Linked DNA regions of Homo sapiens: all the other regions are linked to region 1. The links are contacts of gene promoters, found by promoter capture Hi-C in blood cells and fetal thymus (Javierre and others, 2016). All regions are on one chromosome and are shown on one strand. The core of a region is centred on a gene start or on the middle of the fragment in contact, and the rest is flanking DNA. Distances in the headings are between cores, read along the strand shown. Region 1 holds the start of ZSWIM7 (zinc finger SWIM-type containing 7). Region 2 overlaps TRPV2 (transient receptor potential cation channel subfamily V member 2). Region 3 holds the start of CENPV (centromere protein V). Region 4 overlaps ZNF286A (zinc finger protein 286A). Region 5 overlaps PIGL (phosphatidylinositol glycan anchor biosynthesis class L).

Region 1 (2,587 bases), core at 58-2,557:
AAAACAGTAACTCAAGATAAACCCTTTCAAAATGCAGTACAGTACTTTTAAAACAAAAGCCATCCAAGTTGAATAAGCGATGGCAGTTTGGGGGCCTGATATGGCTGTTATTTATAAGGTGGCCATTTTTACATCCTAAGAGTAGTTCATTAGTCAATGCATTTTGAGTATATCAAATTTGATTTGATCTTATCCTAGCATACTCTGAACACATCTTGAGATCAACCCTTCTCAAGTGATTTTGGTGAGCATAGCCAAAGAGTACCCTCTGCTGGTCAGAAAAAAAATGGTGCTTTCACAATACCCAGATTTACTCCAACGATTGCATATGCATTTAGGTTTTGTGGCTCTTAAAATGCTTTTTTTTTTTTTTTTGAGATGGAATTTCGCTCTTGTTGCCCAGGCTGGAGTGCAATGGCGCGATCTCGGCTCACGGCAACCTCCGCCTCCCGGGTTCAAGCGATTCTCCTGCCTCAGCCTCCTGAGTAGCTGGAATTACAGGCGCCCGCCACCACGCCCAGCTAATTTTTTGTATTTTTAGTAGAGACGAAGTTTCACCATGTTGGCCAGGCTGGTCTCGAACTCCTGACCTTAGGTAATCCAACTGCCTCGGCCTCCCAAAGTGCTGGGATTACGGGAGTGAGCCACTGCGCTGGGCCTACTTTTTAAAGTGTATGGAAGCATTAACTTTAATGTTAACATCAGAATTTGAGAAAAAGAAGTTTAATAATTCAAAATTTCGTGTAAAATAATCAAGAACTCCACGTTTCTATCACTCACTGTAGGCTCCCGTCCCTTCCACCCCCGGGCGGGGACCCCTCCCAGCGACCCGGCCAGCTCTCAGCACTTCGGTCCCCACTGGCCTACTCGCTCCGACGGAGGGGCTCCTGCAACTGCGCTGTACCGTAAATATTTGCTGAATCGATTTGACTTTTACTTGTTCCAATTTCGCTTTTTTGTTGTTTTGTTTTTTTGTCTTTTTACGAACAAGAGGTTTAGAGAACCACATGGAAAAAAGGCAGGGCCAGGCCCGGACACCCCGCCTCCTGCCTCCCGGCCCGGCGGTGCCCGGATGCCCCGCCCGCGCCCATGGCGCAGCCACACACGACCTCGGTCCCGTACTTCGCGCGCTCTCCTGCACCGCCGCCGCCATCTCGCTCAGGAGCTCCTCCACAACCGCCGGCAACACTACGGCCATCGCGCCGCAGGACACGCCCTCCACGACCGGCGGACCGCCGCGACGCTCCAGCTGACTGCGCCTACCTGTGGAGGATCCTGACCCCCCGCCGGGGCAGGGCGAGACGGAGTGACGTCGGGGCGCGTCATCGCGCGTGCGGACGCAGGGATGTCCTGCTCAGTCGTCAGGGCCCGGCCAATCCGGAGGGCGCTCGGCGCGTGGTCGGGGGCCAGGAGCGCGTCTGGCCTGCAGTGCGCAGAGGACGCGGCGGGAGCATGTTCCGGCTCCTGAGCTGGAGCCTGGGCCGAGGCTTCCTGCGGGCCGCGGGGCGGCGGTGCCGGGGCTGCTCCGCGCGCCTGCTCCCGGGGCTGGCAGGAGGTCCGGGGCCCGAGGTGCAGGTGCCGCCATCCCGAGTCGCGCCGCACGGCCGGGGCCCAGGCCTGCTGCCGCTGCTGGCAGGTGAGGGGCGCGGGCCGGGCGGGGCCGGCCGGGCGGGGACAGGGGCGCGGGCCGGGCCCGATGACCTCAGAGCCCCTTCCCGCAGCGCTCGCCTGGTTCTCGAGGCCCGCTGCGGCAGAGGAGGAGGAGCAGCAGGGAGCCGACGGGGCCGCTGCCGAGGACGGGGCGGACGAGGCCGAGGCAGAGATCATCCAGCTGCTGAAGCGAGCCAAGGTGAGGCGGCTCCGGGCCCTGCGCCCGGCCGAGCGCGGTAGCCTTTGTGAGCGGGGTCTTGGCGTTGCTGCGCATTACTCTCTCCGCCTCGCCGAAGAGTGGATGGAGGCTCCGCGGGTAAAATTGCCGAGAATGAGGTGGGTCATCCGAGAGGGGATTGGAATCCATCCAGGCTTTTCCGACTCTAAGGCCTGCAGTAAAACCTCTGCAGTGTCAAGTGCAAATGGAGATGGCGCCCTAGGCATCACGCTTTATGCAAACGAAATATCGGGAACGTTTTGTAGTGGTTTTATCAATTAACCAGCCTATCTGAAATGACATAATTTCGCACGTATATAGCGGCCTGAAAATGGCAACTTAGTGTTGGTTATGCGGTTCGGTTCTCCTCCTGAATTCTTCCTTTTCTCCACATCCTTTTCTATTTTTTTTTCCTCCTCTTTTCCCAAGTTATCTCATCTCTTCCATTGAGCTAAATACCTACTCGATGCCAACAACGTCCAAATTTGTATTTCCATTCTGTAGTGTGCTACTGACATGCCATTTGCACTTTAGGACCATACCTACCTCTCAGATTTAACATGCCCAAAACTAAACGATCTTTAATGCCTCCTCAACATACGCTTTCGCCATCTCTTTACTACCATCAGTTTTTCAGCCTAAAAACCTCATAGTCATTCTTAAAACTTGTGGTACCTTACCATTGCCTTCCAATACACTTACAGTCCAGCAACAAGTCCT
Region 2 (2,587 bases), core at 1-2,500, 430 kb after region 1:
GCCTCCCAAAGTGCTGAGATTACTCCCACCTCCTTTAAGCTCATAGATGTACTTAGGACAGTGCCCAGCACCAAGCAGGTGCTCAATGTGCTACCAGCTACTCTTATCATCATTGCTGTCCAGTGTTTCTTTTTTTTTTTTTTTTGAGTCAAGAGTTTTGCTCTTGTTGCCCGGGCTGGAGTGCAATGGTGCAATCTTGGCTCACTGCCACCTTTGTCTCCTGGGTTCAAGCGATTCTCCTGCCTCAGCCTCCCAAGTACCTAGGATTACAGGCATGTGCCACCACACCCCACTAATTTTTTGTATTTAGTAGAGATAAGGTTTCACCATGTTGGTCAAGCTGGTCTTGAACTCCTGACCTCAGGTGATACACCTGCCTCGGCCTCCCAAAGTGCTGGCATTACAGGCATGAGCCACCATGCCCCACCCTGCTGCCAATTCATTGTTGATCTTGGGGAAGCCCCTTATCTCCTCTGAGCCTTGGTGCCCTCCTCTGCAAGGTTCTGTGCCCCACCTGACTCACTGGTGTGCCTCTGGGCAGGCACATGTGTGGGGTGAGCAAATGAAGTTCTGTTCCTGGTGGTGTGGCAATCTGGAGCCTGGAACGATGTAAGAGCAAGTAGCTGTCCAGTACTCATAAGGTACAGACTTCCCATCAGCTGTCTGAGGCACTTTGTCCTCAGTCTACAAATGGGGAAACTGAGATGCAGAGAGGCTGAGGGCCCAACCCCACACAGGTAACCGGATGTTGGAGCCAGATTCGAATCCGCGTGTTTAGTTGACTTCGCGTTATACTGTGAAGTGCTGCGCGGCACTTCCCTGCTCCGCTTGCCTTGTGTGCCTTTGCCCCCAGGCAGGGTCCCAGGACGTTCTGTCTGATGCATCCTTTGTCCCCAGAAAGCCATCTCTGTCCTGGAGATGGAGAATGGCTATTGGTGGTGCAGGAAGAAGCAGCGGGCAGGTGTGATGCTGACCGTTGGCACTAAGCCAGATGGCAGCCCCGATGAGCGCTGGTGCTTCAGGTGAGTGAGTGGTGGGAGGGTCTCCTGGGGGCCTTGCTGTCCAGCAATCCCTGGGGCCCCCCTGCAGTGCAGGGCACAGCTGCCAGGAGCCAGGTCTGGTGGGAAGGGCAGGCCCAAAGAGCACCAGGGACTGAGCCTGAGCAGGTGAGGTCAGGGGTCTGGATCTCACAAGCCATGGCTGCCACATGACTGGCCATCTGCCTGTCCCAGTGGCTTAAACTGAAGGTCCCCTCCTGGTGATCTCAGACTCCTCCTTGTAGCCTGAAATGTGTTACGGTAAGGAGGCCAAGAAGTCAGAGGGACCCTTGGGTTGCTAGCACTCTAGCATTGCCCTGGCTGCTCTGTGTCCCCCCACCCCCAATTCTGCCAGCCTGATCTCTGAGCTACAACCCCTTCCATGGAGAACATGCCCTTCTGTGTCCAGGAAAGGCTGGGACACTGGGAGAGGGAACCTAGTGACAAACACACAGCTAAAAACAGACACTGTCGGCCGGGTGCAGTGGCTCATGCCTGTAATCCCAGCACTTTGGGAGGCCGAGGCGGGCAAATCACGAGGTCAGGAGATCGAGACCATCCTGGCTAACACAGTGAAACCCCATCTCTACTAAAAATACAAAAAAGTAGCCGGGCGTGGTGGCGGGCGCCTGTAGTCCCAGCTACTCAGGAGGCCGACGCAGGAGAATGGCATGAACCTGGGAGGCGGAGCTTGCAGTGAGCTGAGATCGCACCACTGCACTCCAGCCTGGGCGACAGAGCGAGACTCCATCTCAAAAAAAAAAAAAAAAAGAAAACAACAGCAACAAAAAAAACAGACACTGTCGTGAGGCAGCAGATGAGCAGAGAGACGGAGTCTTGGGCATGAGGAGCAGCCATGATAGGCCCCAGAACCCGGAAGCACAGATACACCTGATCTGAATTCCTCTTCTCTGGTTGTTCTGGGCAACCCAGGCTGCTGTGAACAGCCAGAAGCGATGGATGCTGATTCCTGCAAGTGAGCACCTGCCTCACAGGACAGGGCTCCAAGTGGGTGGCCCAGAACCCTGCAGAGAAAAAGCCTGTCCTCCTCAGGGCCTCTGTGTCCACCAGAGCATCTCTGCATAGTCTCCCAATTTGGGGGGCCACGCCCCTCTCCGGGGTGGGAGGGGAGGCGGTCAAAGCAGGCAAACCTCAGAGCTGCTCTGTTGCCCTCAGGGTGGAGGAGGTGAACTGGGCTTCATGGGAGCAGACGCTGCCTACGCTGTGTGAGGACCCGTCAGGGGCAGGTGTCCCTCGTGAGTAGCCTGGTGACTAGAGCCTCTGCCCTGGGGTGTGTGTCTCTGCTGCTTGGCCACAAAGCCTTGGAGAGTCTGGGGCAGGACCCAGAGACCTCCTCATAGTCCCTTTGCAGATCCCCACATGCCAGCTCCTCTTAGAGGGATTGCCTCCTTAAAACAGTGGTTCCCTCCTTTCCTTTCCACCCACACCTTGCTTTCAGGCAGGAACCAGGGGAAACCTCTGAGGCTGTTAGCGCTTCCACCAGCCCAGCCTCTGGCTGCCCTCTCTCTGATGCCAGTCAGTCACACCCT
Region 3 (2,587 bases), core at 56-2,555, 350 kb after region 1:
TAAAATTGACACTGAAATATAATATCAGGGCGTTAAAATATCTCTCTGTAGCACAACTGTTCCCCGAGGCAGGAATCCAGATCGCATTTGGAGAAAAGAAGGCAGCCCTTTAACAGCCCAGTTAAAAGCTCTTTCCCAAATCGCGGACACTCGAGATGCTCCTCGGGCCATCTAAAAGACTGCGGAGCAGCCAGGAGGGCGAGCGGCAGGGAGCATTAGCTGGCTGAGCACATAAAAGCCTCCCTACGTAGGTATCCCCGCCGCCGCGCGAGGCCGGAGCATCTCTTCGCGCGCGCTTCTCTCCCGGATCAATAACCTCCGCCCCCTGCTCCCTCCCTGGCAGTGCCTGGAACAATGACGGGATTTTGCTTCCCAGTGAGTTCAAAACTATTCATGCTTCCTTCAACGCTTCTACCTTTCCCTTCCACCCACCCTCAAAAACACGTGTGCAAACACAAAAAAAAAGGGGATTCGGGTAAGAGAAAGCCGTGGGATTTATGTTCTTTTCACTAAGAAAGGCCCCCACACCCTTTGCGCGCCAGCAAGAGACAACGTCCCCGAGCACGATGCTTATGGCCGGGAAAGACTCTTTGTGTCCCAAGACGGCTGCGCGCGCCCTCAAGCTCCGGACGAAGCCCCCTTTCCATTCCCAGGCCACACAGCCCTAGAAGCACCGCCCCGCCCCGCCGCCCTTAGAATTAAGGAATAACCCCAGTGCTAACGGGGGAGCCGCGTCGGCTCCGTAACGTGGAAGGCTCAGAGCTGAAAGGCGCCCAAGGCCTGCACGCGGGCTGCGAGCCCGACTCCTGCCGAGGGGGTCCGCGTGGCAACGGCTCCCGCGCCCCCCGGCCCGCCGCACTCACAAGGTGTCTAGCAGGAGCTTGGCGGCACCCTCGGAGGTAAGCTTCTGCCGCTTCTGGAACGTCTCCCAGCGCTCCCGCTGCTCGCCCAGGTCCAGGTTGGACGCCGAGGACGTCGGGGTCGCGGGAGTCGGCGGCGGCGGCGGCGGTGGCGGGAGCAACGCCAGCTCAGGCGGCGGCGGCTCCCCCGGGCCCTCCTCCTGGGCCCGCGGCGACGAGCGCCTCAGCCGCGGCTTCTCCGACGGCGGCTTCTCCACCGCCTGGCTCTTGCTCCCGGCCTGGCTAGCGGAGCGCCGTGTGCGGGTGGCGCTGGGTGCCAAGGCAGCGGCCGCGGAGGCCGCGGGGGCCGCGGAGGCCCCGGACCGCTTCTGCCCGCGCAGCTTGGCGGCCGCAGAGCTCCTCGATCGCCGCATGGCTCCCGCAGCCTGGCGCGCAGGCCTCGCAGCGCGGCGCGCCCCCGCCGGCCTGCGCGCGCCCCCGCCGCCCGCCAGTCTTCAGGCCCAGGGGGCGCTGCGCCCGGCTGCCCCGCTCCGCCAGCCGCGCCCCGCAGCGCGGCGCCTGCCCGCAGGAGGGAGACCCGGCCCGCCCGGCCGCTGGGACGCACCTGCCTGTTCAGTCCCGCAGGCAGAGGGGCTGCGCCTGGGCCTACGCTCGCGATACCCAGAATCCACTCGCACCTGCGAAGGCGCCCCTGCCCTGTGTGAATCCAGCGGGCTCTTCGTACCTTCCCGACCTGGAGGGGCCTGGGTTGGGCCTGAATTCGCAGGCTCATCCGAGCGGGCAGCCTGGGGTAACTTCGTCTCCAAAAACGAGCTAATTTGTGTAAACGGCCTGCCACCTGCTACCTCCTGTGTAACAGCGGCCGAAACCATAGTTCTTCACCTTCGTCTTTTCTGTCACATTATAGAACAGTGTCATGAGGATACCAATAGTCAACAGATTTGGGGTTTCATTTTAATTAAATGAATGACCCGCGCGTCGAATTTCATTAGTATGATTTTGATGAAGGCAGCACCAAAGTTTAAAGACAAAAGGCACGAGAATCGTTGATGGAACCCAGATAGTCTTCTTCTCCTTCTCCTTCTTCTTCTTTTTTCAGACCGAGTTTCGCTCTTGTTGCCCAGGCTGGAGTGCAGTGACGCGATCTCGCCTCACCGCAACCTCCGCCTCCCAGGTTCAAGCGATTCTCCTGCCTCAGCCTCCTGAGTAGCTGGGATTACAGGCATTCGCCACCACACCCGGCTAATTTTGTATTTTTAGTAGAGACGGGGTTTCACCATGTTGGTCAGGCTGGTGCCGAATACTCCCGACCTCAGGTGATCCATCCGCCTCGGCCTCCCAAAGCGCTGGGATTACAGGCCTGAGCCACCGGGCCCAGCCTATCTTTCTTTTTTTTTTTTTTTTTTTTTTCTTTTTTGGAGTCTCACTCTGTCGCCAGGCTGGAGTGCAGTGGCGCGATCTCGGTTCACGCAACCTCCGCCTCACCGTTCCAGCGATTCTCCTGCGTCAGCCTATCTTTCTTCTTTATTCTGATTTTCTTCATGGTATTGTTAGTTTAATAGTTTATTGAATTAAAGGCATAGTTTAACTATTTTGTCTTTTTTTTTTTTTTTCCATACAGGATCTGACAGACTGGAGTGCAGTAGCGGGATCTCGGCTCAGTGTAGCCAAGAACTCCTGGCCTCAAGCGATCCTGCCGCCTGGGCCTCTGGAGTAGCTGAGTAGCT
Region 4 (2,587 bases), core at 26-2,525, 290 kb before region 1:
TTGGGTTTAAGTGACAGAAACTTAACTCACACTCTTAAAGGGGAAAAAAATTTTGATTTTTCAGAGATCCAAATATATTATCAAGAATTTCCTTTATTCATTGATTTATTTTTAATCAATTAGCTTGGTTTTGCTCTGTATTAGCTTTATTCCTAGGATTTCCCCATGTGGCAAAGATGGCCAGTGGCAGTCCCAGGGTTACGTTATTCTTCCAGTTAGATAGCAAAGCTAAAAAAGAAAATGCTTCTTTCCTGGGAGTTTCAGCAAATAAGGTCACAGGCCCATCAGTGAAACAATCTCTAGAGCCAGCGAGATTGAGTACTCTGTGGCCAGTTTTAGATCCTGGGCTTACTAGCATGCACGCATACACACATGCATGCATATGATTGTATGAGGGGTGGAGGGGACTGTTAGCCCCTCCCAAACCTTATGTAAAAAAATCCCCTAAGAAAGTGACTTCTGAGGCCGGGCGCGGTGGCTCACGCCTGTAATCCCAGCACTTTGGGAGGCCGAGGCGGGTGGATCACGAGGTCAGGAGATCGAGACCATCCTGGCTAACACGGTGAAACCCCATCTCTACTAAAAACACAAAAAATTAGCCGGGTGCGGTGGCGGGCGCCTGTAGTCCCAGCTACTCGGGAGGCTGAGGCAGGAGAATGGCATGACCCCGGGAGGCGGAGCTTGCAGTGAGCCGAGATTGCGCCACTGCACTCCAGCCTTTTTGTAAGACTCTGTCTAAAAAAAAAAAAAAAATTAAAAAAGAAAGTGACTTCTAATAACTGAAGAAGGAAAGGAAAAACATTAGAAGATAAAACTTCAGTTACCACCGTTACAGTTATGTGGTGCTGCCATTGAGGTCCCGCTTTTTCCTCCTTTCCTGAGGTAAGGACTAATTTGCAACATCTCTCTGAAGTTTCCTCACACAATAAGGAAATAAAGAGAAATTCCTTTCTTTTCTGACAGTTGAAAATATTTGTATTTTCCAAATCCAATTGAACTCCTTACCAGGCCCAGACTCTTGCTGCAGATATTTAAGCTTCATTTAGAGGTCCACCCTCCCTTACTTCAGCTCTTCCTGTAATACTTTGTAGATCAAGAGGTTGAGACCATATTCCGGTTTAGATCTTTATACCCATTACAAATAACTAAGTCCAGCAGGACGGTGGCCATGAAAGTTGGTCGTGGTGGCTCACACCTGTAATCCCAGCACTTAGGGAGGCAGAGGTGGGAGGATAGCTTGAGCCCCGGAGTTCGAGACCTGCCTGGGCAATATAGTGAGATCCCATTAACTTTAAAAATAAAAAATAAAAAGTAAATTTTTATAAATTAAAAAAAAAGAAAGAAAGTTGGAATTCACTAAGGAATATGTAACAATTCAACTGGCTTGAAGAAAACTTCCACAAATAACTTACTCCCATTACTTTCTTCTTTCTGTCTTTTTCTTTTTTTAAATGAATAGGGCTTCCAGTTTCCAAACCTGAGAGCTACAACTTGGAGAATGGAAAAGAACCATTGAAGCTTGAGAGAAAAGCCCCCAAAAGCAGCTATTCAGGTGAGCCAGATAGATGGGAGTCTTCATAAATGATAGCCCAGCAGGACAATGAAGAAATACTTTTCAGTGCTTAAGAAAGTGCCTGTGTGCCCTTATTTTTAAATTTTTTTAAAATTCTAAAGCATTTAAAATATATACAGAAGTCCAGAAAATAAAATAACATTCATGTATCCATCACTGAGATTAGACACGTACTAATATTTTGCTTCGTTTGCCTCTTTTCTTTCTTCCTTTCTTTTTCTTACAATATAAAACTAATAATTATACAGTTGGATGAATTTTCACTAATTTAGCACATTCATGTAACGATTGCCCAAATCAAGAAAATAGCCTTACCAGCGCCTCTAGAAGCACCGGTGTGCCCTGTTTCAGGACCCTCCCTTCTCCCAAGGGTCACCTTATCCTAACTTATAGCACCAAGTTTTGACGGTTCTTGAACTTTCTATAAATGGAATCATATTGTATATACTCTTGTGTCTGGCTTCCTTCACTGCACATTAGCTGTGAGATACATCTTTGTTGCTGCATATCATCATAATTTATTCATTATCATTGTATAATTTTTTGTTTTGTTAATATACCCAGTTTATTCTTCTGAAGATGAGTATTTGGATAGTTTCCAGTTTTTAGCTGTCTGAATAATGCCACTATGTACACTTTTTAAATGCCTTTTGGTGAACAAATATATGCATTTCTTCTGGATATATACATACAAGTAGACTTGTTTTATCAGAGGATAGATACATACTCACTTTTGGTAGATAGTGCCAAAGAGGTTTCTAGAGTCATTGTACCAATTACATTCCTAGCAGCAGAGTATGTGCGTTCTAGTTGTTCCACATGCTTGTCAACACTTAATATTGCTTGTTTTCATTTTAGCCATCCTTTTGAGGTGTGTGATGTCTTTTATTTTTTAAGAAATAAAAATATTACATATTCAGTTAAAGCCCTTTTATTCTCAGCTGGGTGTGGTGACTCACGCCTGTAATCCCAGCACTTCGGGAGGCCAAGGTGGGTGGATCACCTGAGGTCAGA
Region 5 (2,587 bases), core at 65-2,564, 290 kb after region 1:
AACCTACCAAGTTGTCCTTAAAAACTCTGATTCCAGAATGCTACGGGAGACTGATTTGAGTAATAATAATACTCCGGTCTCCATTACAGCTGGCTCTGCATGAATTAATTACAGCCGGCTCTGCATGAATTAATTACTCTTTCTCTATTGCAATTCCCGTGTATTGATAAATCGACTCTGTCTAGGCAGCAGGCAAGGTGAACCCACTGGGTGGTTACAACATTAGATAGCAAATTGGCAATTAAAGAATATATCTGTAGAGACAGGATCTTACTAATGTTGCCCAGCTGGTCTTAAACTCCTGGCCTCAAGCAGCCCTCCCACCACCTCAGCCTCCCAAAAGGCTGAGATTACAGGGGTGAGACACCACACCTGGCCAAATTGGCAATTTTTGAAGAAAGATTTCTCACAAGGACTTTGCAAGCTTTATGTACTTTATTTGTTGCAATAATATGAAATGCATCTTTCTGGGAAGGAGAACACAGGTAACTGATTTCAGTGTAATACCTAGCACTCATGCCTTGCTAATCCTTTTTATATCCTATGAGAAAGGAAAAATCCAGGCCGGGCGCGGTGGCTCAAGCCTGTAATCCCAGCACTTTGGGAGGCCAAGGCAGGTGGATCACGAGGTCAGGAGTTCAAGACCAGCCTGGCCAAGATGGTGAAACCCCATTTCTACTAAAACTACAAAAATTAGCCAGGCGCGGTGGCAGGTGCCTGTAATCCCAGCTACTGGGGATGCTGAAGCAGGAGAATCACCTGAACCCGGGCGGCAGAGGTTGCGCCACTGCTCTCCAGCCTGGGCGACAGAGTGAGGCTCTGTCTCCAAAAAAAAAAAAATCCATTTTATGGTTAGATTTGGGGGCTTCAAGCCGTATGTGGAAAAGGCTCTCTTAGGGCATTTGGTCTGTCTGGGCTCCTAAGCTGCTTAGAAATGAGGTCCTTATCACAGCAGATACTTAATAAAAGTGCACTGATCTTTATATACCTCTTTTTTCAGTCCTTTTTCTTTTTCTCAGATCGCCTTTTCCTTCTCTTACTTATCTTTTCCCCTATTTCTTTTCTCTGCGTATGGCTTAGGTTAGTCCTTGGCGGTGCAGAGACACCCCCCAGAAGTTGTTGGACCCTGCTGCAACCTCCCTGCAGCTTAGACTTCATTTCTTCACACTCCTGTATTTGGAGCAGCGACGCTAGTGCCAGGCCCTCAGACCAGGAGACAGTTGCTGCCTCCCACAGTGGCCCTTGGGGGGCGATATTGGCAGTCCCAGGTTAGGCTTCCACGTCCTTGGCTAGCCTTAAGGTTAGCTCTGAACTCTACTGACCTTTGCTCGCTTTGGATGACAAAGGAAATGATCGAGTTTAGAGATGGGCCAGAGGTGGGTGGAGGGGTGGCTGAACCTTCCGGCTTGCGCTGTACAAGCCACAAGACCAAATAAGGGCGTGTGAGCCGCCTCCGTCTGTATTAAAGTTCAGAGTGCAGTGTGCAAAAGTGGGACTCGGTTTTCAGAGATAAGCTGTTACCCAACCCTGCTTGAGTTCCAGCAGCGGAGGCTGCGAAGTCTCCTGCTCTGAGCAGGGCTGGGTCTGGGGGAGAAAGACCTGGGCCCCTGGGCTTGCTTAGCTGGGGAGAGGAAAGAAGGGGGGCTTCCCTCACCAGCACCTGGTGACTGAACGGACCCACAACCCCACAGATTTTCACAAAGGGTTTCCATGACTCTCCCGACTAAAATGTGCCGGCCAGTGTGACTCATTAGAATGTGTAGGAAAGGTCACTGTTTGAGGATATTCAGCCAGTGGGGGAAAAAACCACAACGTTATTTTAATGAACGCTTTTAGCCTGGCTTGTTTCCTGAACATTAAGGTCTAGGGCGGGACTTCGAGTTTGGGGCCTTTTCCAGAGGTATTAACACTGTGTTTGCTAAATACACCCCAGGGAAGGAGTCGTCGGGCTTCTACGAGTCACACTTAAAAGACTGGCAAGAGTTGGCTTCTTCTGTTGTGTTCTTAGCTTCCAAAATAGTAGTCTCTCCTCAGAGCCAGACGCGCAATGCCATCATGTTAATGAGGTGCCTCATGTGCTTCAATAGCCACTGACTGATGGTACCCCGAACCTGCCTGGATTCCTCACCTCTTCCCCTGCCCATCTCTCCTTCCCGCAGCAAACTGCTCATCCTGCAGCAGTCCGAACCTCTGCCTCATTGGCCCTAAGCTTCCTAAGGGAAGGGACCATGACTTGTATTCATGTTTATATCCCTAAAACTCAGCCCTCTGTTTGGCACATAGTGTGTGCTTAGTCCAGATCACTTAAATGTACAATGATTTCATTCTCTCGGAGCCCCGCTCTGGTGGTGTGGGTCCCTGGGGACCCCTCCAGATGCCTTTCTCCAGCCATGGCTGCGCAGGCACCGAGAAGCCGCAGGCTGGTTCCAGCTCACAGCCTCTCGCCTCAGGCCCACACTGCTCCTCCTGCTGTCTGCCCCAGGGCTTGCGATTGCCCGGGGGTCCCCAAGCGGGCTCAACTCTGAAAGATTAGAGAGCTAACAGCCTATGGAGATAAATACTTCCTTCTTTATCTTCCTGGGAAGAT

Evidence for each region. Contacts are between HindIII fragments. The CHiCAGO score rates a contact against its expected background, and 5 or more counts as called.
Region 2: a contact is called between a fragment that was not itself captured here and the fragment with the promoter of ZSWIM7 in region 1, in 2 of 17 cell types (naive CD8 T cells and fetal thymus). The highest score is 6.3, in naive CD8 T cells.
Region 3: a contact is called between the fragment with the promoter of CENPV here and the fragment with the promoter of ZSWIM7 in region 1, in 3 of 17 cell types (activated CD4 T cells, total CD4 T cells and total B cells). The highest score is 9.7, in activated CD4 T cells.
Region 4: a contact is called between a fragment that was not itself captured here and the fragment with the promoter of ZSWIM7 in region 1, in 1 of 17 cell types (activated CD4 T cells). The highest score is 5.4, in activated CD4 T cells.
Region 5: a fragment that was not itself captured here is called in contact with the fragment with the promoter of ZSWIM7 in region 1 in 1 of 17 cell types (erythroblasts); the score reaches 6.3 in erythroblasts.

What each region holds. Positions count from the first base shown.
Region 1 is chr17:15,998,397-16,000,983 of GRCh38, forward strand. ZSWIM7 (zinc finger SWIM-type containing 7) reads right to left here and starts at 1,308. Exons shown (of 5, transcript NM_001042697.2): 1 at 1,123-1,308. The coding sequence starts at 1,198. TTC19 (tetratricopeptide repeat domain 19) reads left to right here and starts at 1,428. Exons shown (of 10, transcript NM_017775.4): 1 at 1,428-1,636; 2 at 1,722-1,849. The coding sequence starts at 1,453. RefSeq lists silencers at 882-1,041, 1,392-1,781 and an enhancer at 1,182-1,271. The HindIII fragment of the contact is 18,071 bases long and covers 1-2,587 here.
Region 2 is chr17:16,432,677-16,435,263 of GRCh38, forward strand. TRPV2 (transient receptor potential cation channel subfamily V member 2) reads left to right here. Exons shown (of 15, transcript NM_016113.5): 13 at 898-1,022; 14 at 2,214-2,293. Among named protein-coding and RNA genes, the nearest start is that of SNHG29, 5.0 kb to the right of the region's middle. The HindIII fragment of the contact is 9,614 bases long and covers 1-2,587 here.
Region 3 is chr17:16,352,164-16,354,750 of GRCh38, forward strand. CENPV (centromere protein V) reads right to left here and starts at 1,306. Exons shown (of 5, transcript NM_181716.3): 1 at 864-1,306. The coding sequence starts at 1,273. RefSeq lists silencers at 696-1,305, 1,366-1,515. The HindIII fragment of the contact is 31,801 bases long and covers 903-2,587 here.
Region 4 is chr17:15,706,696-15,709,282 of GRCh38, forward strand. ZNF286A (zinc finger protein 286A) reads left to right here. Exons shown (of 6, transcript NM_001130842.2): 5 at 1,460-1,552. ZNF286A-TBC1D26 (ZNF286A-TBC1D26 readthrough (NMD candidate)) reads left to right here. Exons shown (of 23, transcript NR_171000.1): 5 at 1,460-1,552. Among named protein-coding and RNA genes, the nearest start is that of ZNF286A-TBC1D26, 8.2 kb to the left of the region's middle. The HindIII fragment of the contact is 482 bases long and covers 1,035-1,516 here.
Region 5 is chr17:16,284,743-16,287,329 of GRCh38, forward strand. The region is part of intron 2 of PIGL (phosphatidylinositol glycan anchor biosynthesis class L); the gene reads left to right. Among named protein-coding and RNA genes, the nearest start is that of MIR1288, 4.0 kb to the left of the region's middle. RefSeq lists enhancers at 1,001-1,990, 1,155-1,204, 1,253-1,547. The HindIII fragment of the contact is 1,785 bases long and covers 423-2,207 here.